2 separate regions of the Homo sapiens genome follow, and region 1 is linked to region 2. The links are contacts of gene promoters, found by promoter capture Hi-C in blood cells and fetal thymus (Javierre and others, 2016). All regions are on one chromosome and are shown on one strand. The core of a region is centred on a gene start or on the middle of the fragment in contact, and the rest is flanking DNA. Distances in the headings are between cores, read along the strand shown.

The links. Contacts are between HindIII fragments. The CHiCAGO score rates a contact against its expected background, and 5 or more counts as called.
Region 1: a fragment that was not itself captured here is called in contact with the fragment with the promoter of NDUFB7 in region 2 in 2 of 17 cell types (monocytes and megakaryocytes); the score reaches 7.2 in monocytes.

Annotation. Positions count from the first base shown.
Region 1 is chr19:14,781,061-14,784,760 of GRCh38, reverse strand. No RefSeq gene overlaps it. Among named protein-coding and RNA genes, the nearest start is that of ADGRE2, 4.4 kb to the right of the region's middle. The HindIII fragment of the contact is 8,011 bases long and covers 1-3,700 here.
Region 2 is chr19:14,570,135-14,573,935 of GRCh38, reverse strand. NDUFB7 (NADH:ubiquinone oxidoreductase subunit B7) reads left to right here and starts at 1,870. Exons shown (of 3, transcript NM_004146.6): 1 at 1,870-2,047. The coding sequence starts at 1,936. RefSeq lists an enhancer at 1,649-1,938. The HindIII fragment of the contact is 3,352 bases long and covers 753-3,801 here.

The DNA.
Region 1 (3,700 bases), core at 992-3,491, 210 kb before region 2:
ATAATCCCCTTTAAATTTTCCCAAGAATAGGATATACACATGCAAAAAATAATAATAATAATGAAAGAACTTAGACCCTACGTCATAACCATACACAAAAAGTAACTATATGAGGCCAGGTGCGGTGCTTCACGCCTGTAATCCCAGCACTTTGGGATGCCGAGGCAAGGGAATCACCTGAGATTAAGAGTTTGAGACCAGCCTGACCAACATGGTGAAACCCTGTCTTTACTAAAAATACACACACACACACACACAAAAATAGCCAGGGGTGGTGGCACACACCTGTAATCTCGGCTACTCGGGAGGCGAGGCAGGAGAGTAGCTTGAACTCAGGAGGTGGAGGTTGCAGTGAGCCAAGATCACGCCACTGCACTCCAGCCTGGGTGACAGAGAGAGACTCCATCTCAAAAAAATTAAATTAAATTAAATTTAAAAATAAACATAAGTATCCGTTTGAGTGTCTGCCTTCAGTTTTCTCAGGTGTATACCCAGGAGCAGAATGGCTGGATCACAGGGTCACTCTGCAAGTAACTTTTTGAGGAGCCGCAAACTGTTTTCTATGCCTGGAAAGAAGTGAAAGGGAGACCTCCATCCGAGGGACAGAGCCCTGGGGATGGGTTGATTCTCATCAATGCTTTCCCATCGTTTCTTTCTGGTACTGGCTGGGACCGTCAGTGCCATCCATGGCCCTAATTCTCGGGAACCCACAAGCCCACAACAGAAGAGGCCCAGAGGCATGCGGAGGGGTTGACCCGGGTGGGCACCCAGCCTGAATAAGCCCCCTTCCTCCCCTGGCCTTCCCCACCCATCGAAAGTCAAGGGAAGGATTCTGAGACCCCCATCCTCACAGTGCCCCCCAGAAGCCTGACCCCATCCTTATCGGGACATCGGCACCACCCTGCTCAGAAGATTTTGCAAAATGGGGAAGACACTGAGAGCTGCAAGAAGGTGATAAAAATGCCACCAAATGTCACACAGCGTTCCCAGCTCAGGGCTTCTTGTTGGCTGCCACCAGTTCCCCACCCCCACAGCCACCCCTGAGCTGTTCCCCTCCCCCACCCTACTCTCTCCTTTGCTTCCTCTAATCGCTTCTCCTTAAAACCTTTACACATTTTAAAATTCTTTTTTAAATATTTGTATAGAGCCTCAGGTTTATATAATTCATGAAACAATGTAATTCTTGGGACCATCGGTCTATCCATGATCAGCTTTATTTTACTTACTTATTTTCTGAGACAGAGTCTCACTCTGTGGCCCAGGCTGGAGTACAGTGGCGAGAGCTCACTGCAACCTTGAACTCCTGGGCTCAAGAGATCCTCCCACCTCAGCCCCGTGAGTAGCTGGGATTCCAGGCACATGCCATCACTCCTGGCTAATTTTTGCATTTTTTGGTAGAGATGGAGTTTTACCATGTTGCCCAGGCTGGTCTCGATCCCCTGGGCTCAAGGGATCCTCCCGCCTCGGCCTCCAAAAGTGCTGAGATCACAGGCATGAGCCACTCTGCCTGGCCGATTTTATCTTCCTTGATACAAACTCTTTTCAGAATTCTCTTTGTTTTTGCTTTGGTCCCTGATAAAATCACATGTGAATATAACCGCAAAACACCACATGCCTGCATTACATGGCGTTACGTTAAACAACCATCATTTTGGCTGGGCGCAGTGACTCATGCCCGTCTCTACTAAAAATACAAAAAAATTAGCCTGGCGTGGTGGTGTGCACCTGTAATCCCAGCCACTTGGGAGGCTGAGGCAGGAGAATGGCTTGAACGCGGGGGGCGGAGGTTGCAGTGAGCCGAGATTGTGCCACTGCACTCCTGCCTGGGCGACAGAGCAAGAGACTCTGTCTCAAGAAAACAAAACAAAACAGCCATCATTTTAGGAAACATTCATATGTGGAAACTACTATGTGTATTGTTCACAATTTGCGGGAATAAAGAACTTTGCTTTGCAAAAAATATGTAAATTAAAAAATAAAAGGGAAGGAAGGCATACCCATGAGCCTCCCTCATCACCAAGAACTGAGACATGACCTTGTTCCCATGCTCCCATCTTTATCTTGCTGATTACCACCACTCTGAATATTCTTTGCACCTTATTCCTTTGCTCAGTTACTTATTTTTTTATTTTATTTATTTTTGAGACAGGGTCTTGCTCTGTCACCCAGGCTGGAGTGCAGTGGTATGATCACAGCTCACTGCCACCTCGAATTCCTGGGCTCAAGCCATCCTCCCACTTCAGCCTCCTGAGTAGCTGGGACCACAGGTGCGAGTCACCACACCTGGCGAATTTTTTATTTTTATTGTAGAGATGGAGGTCTCATTATGTTGCCCAGGATGGTCTCGAACTCCTGGGCTCAAGCAATCCTCCCGTCTCAGCATCCCCAAGTAGCTGGGATTACGAGCATGAACCACTGCGCCCGGCCCAGCCTTGTTTATTTTTATTTATTTATTTATATTTATGTATTTTTATTTTATTTTATTTTATTTAGACGGAGTCTCACTCTTGTCTCCCAGGCTGGAGTGCAGTGGCGCAATCTCAGCTCACTGCAGCCTCTGCCTCCCGGGTTCAAGTGATTCTCTTGCTTCAGCCTCCCAAGTAGCTGGGATTACAGGCACCCACCACCATACCCGGCTAATTTTTGTACTTTTAGTACAGACGGGGTTTCACCATGTTGGCCAGGCTGGTCTTGAACTCCTGACCTCAGGTGATCTGCCCACCTCGGCCTCTCTGGGATTACAGGCATGAGCCACCGCGCCCGGCAGCCTTGATTATTTTTTAAAGTCTTCTTGCATATGTTTGTATCCTGAAACCAAATCTTTTATTATCTTTGTATCTCAGCTTTTTTGCAAGGTGGCTTTTTCCTATGGGGCTTTGGAGACTTTTTCAAGATTCTAGTATGGAATCTGTCATGCTGCAATTTAAGATTTTTTTCTCCTGACTTCACTCAGTTTTTAAATTTAAAAAAGGAGTGTGGCTAGGCATGGTGGCATGCACCTGTAACCCCAGCATTTTGGGAGGCTGAGGTGGGCGGATCACTTGAGGGTCAGGAGATCGAGACCAGCCTGGCCAACATGGTGAAACCCCGTCTCTACTAAAAAATTAGCTGGGCGTGGTGGTGTGTGCCTGTAATCCCAGCTTCTAGGGAGGCTGAGGCAGGAGAATTGCTTGAAGCTGGGAGGCGGAGGTTGCAGTGAGCCGAGATCTCGCCACTGCACTCTAGCCTGGGTAACAGGGCAAGATTCCGTCCCCCTCACACACACACAAAAAAAGTGAAAAGTTAGCCAGGCATGGCAACATATGCCTGTAGTCCCAGCTACTTGGTAGGCTGAGGCAGGAGGATCACATAAGCCCAGGACGTGCAGGTTGCCTGAAGCCATAATTGTGCCACCGCCACTGTGCTCCAGCGTGGGCAACAGAGACCCTGTCTCTAAAATAATAACAATAAATTATACTAATATAATTAATAATACCATTATTATTGTTGGTTGGATAATCTTGGGTTGCTTCTTTTTTTTTTTTTTTTTTTTTTGAAACGGAGTCTGGCTCTATCGCCCAGGCTGGAGTGCAATAACGCGATCTCAGCTCACTGCAACCTACATCTCCTGGGCTCAAGCAATTCTCCTGCTTCAGCCTCCCAAGCAGCTGGGATTACAGGTAATCTTGGGTTACTTCTTAGCTGAGCAACCTGGGGCCAG
Region 2 (3,801 bases), core at 621-3,120:
TGAGCCGAGATTGCGCCACTGCACTCCAGCCTGGGCAACGGAGCAAGACTCCGTCTCAAAAAAAAAAAAAAAAAAATTAGCTGGCCGTGATGGCACCCACCTGTAATCCCAGCTACTTAGGAGGCTAAGGCAGGAGAATCGCTTGAAACCAGAAGGCGGAGGTTGCGGTGAGCCGAGATCACACCACTGCACTCCAGCCTGGGCAACAAGAGTGAAACTCTGTCTCAAAAAAAAAAAAAAAAAAGAAAGAAAAAGAAAAGTCTCTATTGCCAGTTGTCTATTCTCAATAGCTTGCTTTTTTCACTTAATATATCAGCAGCCACTTCCCCATGTCAACACATAAAGATCTAGTTGAGTAATTCTCCCAAAGCTGGTCACTAGACCAGCAACATCACATCACCTGGGAATTTTTATAGACAGGGTCTCACTCTGTTGCCTAGGCTGGAGTGCAGTGATGGGATCACGGCTCACTGCAGCCTGGAACTCCTGGGCTCAAGTTATCCTCCTGCCTCAGCCTCCCGAGTAGCTGGGACTACAAGCGTGCACCACCACACCCAGCTTTTTTTTTTTTTTTTTTTTTTGTAGAGATAGAGTCTCCCTATATTGCCCAGGCTGGTCTCAAACTCCTGAGTTCAGGCGATCCTCCCATCTCAGCTTCCCAAAGCTCTGAGATTACAGGTGTGAGCCACTGCCCTGGCCCATATTTTTTTTTTTCCATTAGACTGTTTTTCTGTTCCATTAGACTGTAAGCTTGAAAGACAGGAACCACGTCTGCCTTTCTGTCTGACCACTGGACCCAGCATACCATACAGTAGATGCCTAATACATGCTTTGTCAGACTGGGGAAAAATATATATTAGATATTAATATTAGATATTAATATATTTTAAAATTGTATAAAGATTGCATATATATATATAATTTATTTGAAATTTCAGCTTTAAATAATTGTTTTTGACCAGGCACAGTGGCTTACGCCCATAATCCCAACACTTTGAGAGGCTGAGGCGGGAGGATCCCTGGAGCCCAAGAGTTCAAGGTTGCAGTGAGCTATGATTGTGCCACTGTGCTCCAGCCTGGGCGACAGAATGAGACCCTATCTCAAAAAATAATAATATAATAATAACTGTATTTATGAATAACTTTTATTTAAATTAAATTTATCAAAATCTTTCTTGGACAGGCACTGTGGCTCATGCCCGTAATCCCAGCAATTTGGGAGGCTGAGGCGGGGGAATCACTTGAGGTCAGGGGTTCGAGACCAGCCTGGCCAACTGGCGAAACCCCGTCTCTACTAAAAATACAAAAATTAGCTGGGGGTGGTGGCGGGCGCCTGTAATCCCAGCTACTCAGGAGGCTGAGGCAAGAGAATTTGAGCCCAGGAGGTGGAGGCTGCAGTGAGCCGAGATCGCGCCAATACACTCCAGTCTGGGCGACAGGTACTGTGTCTCCAAAAACAAAAAATTCTTAAAGTGACTTTATGCAAAATTACATACATTAACGATATAATAGATATCGTGCCTTTTTTAAGAGAAATTTGAATGTTTTCAAAGAAAAAACTTTTTGGAAAATGATATGAAAAATAATTTTAATATGTGCTTTAGCCTCGGGCTACCAGAAGAGCCCCAGATAGGGTCGAGGGAGGCCTCAGTCCCACACCGTCCCCTTCTGCCCCGCCCAGATGGATTTCCAGGCTCAGGGAAGTCCCCTCTCGGGTCCAACCATATCCTGCGAAGAGACACAGCACCTGTCCCGCCTCCGCCTGTCCGCGAGGTGACGCCAGGCGGACCGGAGCGATCCTCTGGAGTCCTTCATCTCTATGATCTCCGCAGCTGCCTAAATGACCCGGAAGCTGTGTCTGACTGAGGGGTCAGTGGTTCCGGGTAGGAGCTAGGTGACCCTCGGCTGCTGCAGGGATCTGCAGCGACTGCAGCCATGGGGGCCCACCTGGTCCGGCGCTACCTGGGCGATGCCTCGGTGGAGCCCGACCCCCTGCAGATGCCAACCTTCCCGCCAGACTACGGCTTCCCCGAACGCAAGGAGCGCGGTGAGGCCCAGTGCGCAGGCGCAGCCAGAGGGCGTGGGGCGCGGGTGCCTGAACACCTGGCACCCCAGGGCTGGCACCCCAGGGCTGGGCTCTAACCTCAGGTGTTGTATCTGGGTTTGGGTCTAGACTAGGAGTCCACAGGACGTGCATGACCCCACCTCAGTGTGGAGGCGTTCCAGCCCAAGGGCACGGCTTGAGCAAAAGCCAGGGAGCAAAAGTGAGGCGACAAGTGGGGGTTCGGGCAGGAATGCGACGCGCAGAGCTGGGTCGAGTCTTTTTTTTTTTTCTTTTGAGACGGAGTCTCGCTTTTTCTTTCAGGCTGGAGTGCAGTGGCTTGGTCTCGATTCACTGGCAGCCTCCACCTCCCGGGTTCAAGCGATTCTCCTGCCTCAGCCTCGCGAGTAGCTGTGATTACAGATGTGTACCACCATGCCCAGCTACTTTTTTGTATTGTTAGTAGAGACGGGGTTTCTCCTTGTTGGCCAGGCTGCTCTTGAACTCCTGACCTCAAGTGATCCGCCCGCCTCGGCCTCCCCAAGTGCTGGGATCGCAGAAGTCAGTCACCACGCCCGGCCTCGGGCCAAGTCTTGGGGGACGTGGGGAGTCATGGGAGGGCAGGGACACGTTCATTGTACCCCCTTCCTGATGTCACTGCAATTGTGGGGTATGCACAAGGAAATAAGGAAGATTCGAGCTGCAAATACTGTCCTGCAAAGTGCTTTGTTTTGCTTTGAGACGGGATCTTGCTCTGTTGCCCAGGCTGAGTGTAGTGGCACAATCACAGCTCATTGCATCCTCGACCTCCTGGGCTCAAATGATCCTCCCGCCTCAGCCTCCCGAGTAGCTGGGACTACAGGAGCGCCCCAGGATGCCAGACTGATTTTTTATTTTTTGTAGAGTTGGGGGTCTTGCTGTGTTGCCCAGGCTGGTCTCAAACTCCTGGGCTCAAACGATCCTTCTGCCCAGCCTCCCAAAGTGCTGGGATTGAAGATGTGAGCCACTACGCCCAGGATGGTTTTTTGGTTCGTGTGTTTGTTTTTGCTTTTAATGTAGTAATATCACAGGCATACCGAGCACCAGCTCTGGGCCACGTCCCACATTAGGCACCGCGGATACAGCAGGGAACTGGAGGGATGCAGGCACTGTCTCCAGAGAACTCAGCACAGTGGGAAAGATTGTGGAATCAGGCAGAGCTGGGGGTGTCAAAGCAGGCTTCCAAGAGGCAGTGGCTGGAAACAAAGACGTGAAGGGTGGCCGGTCGTGGTGGCTCATGCCTGTAATCCCAGCACTTTGGGAGGCTAAGGCGGGCAGATCACCTGGGGTCAGGAGTTTGAGACCAGCCTGGCCAACATGGTGAAACACCATCTCTACTAAAAATATAAAAATTGAGGCCGGGCATGGTGTCTCACACCCATAATCCCAGCACTTTGGGAGGCCGAGGCGGGCAGATCACGAGGTCAGGGGATTGAGACCATCCTGGCCAATGTGGTGAAACCCTGTCTCTACTAAAAATACAAAAATTAGCCAGGGGCGTGGTGGTGCACACCTGTAGTCCCAGCTACTCAGGAGGCTGAGGCAGGAGAATCGCTTGAACCCAGGAGGCAGAGGTTATAGTGAGCCGAGATCACACCACTGCACTCCAGCCTGGGCGACAGAGCAAGACTCCATCTCAAAAACAAAATACAAAAATTAAGCCGGGCACGGTGGCTTATGCCTGTAATCCCAGCACTTTGGGAGGCCAAGGCCGGTGGATC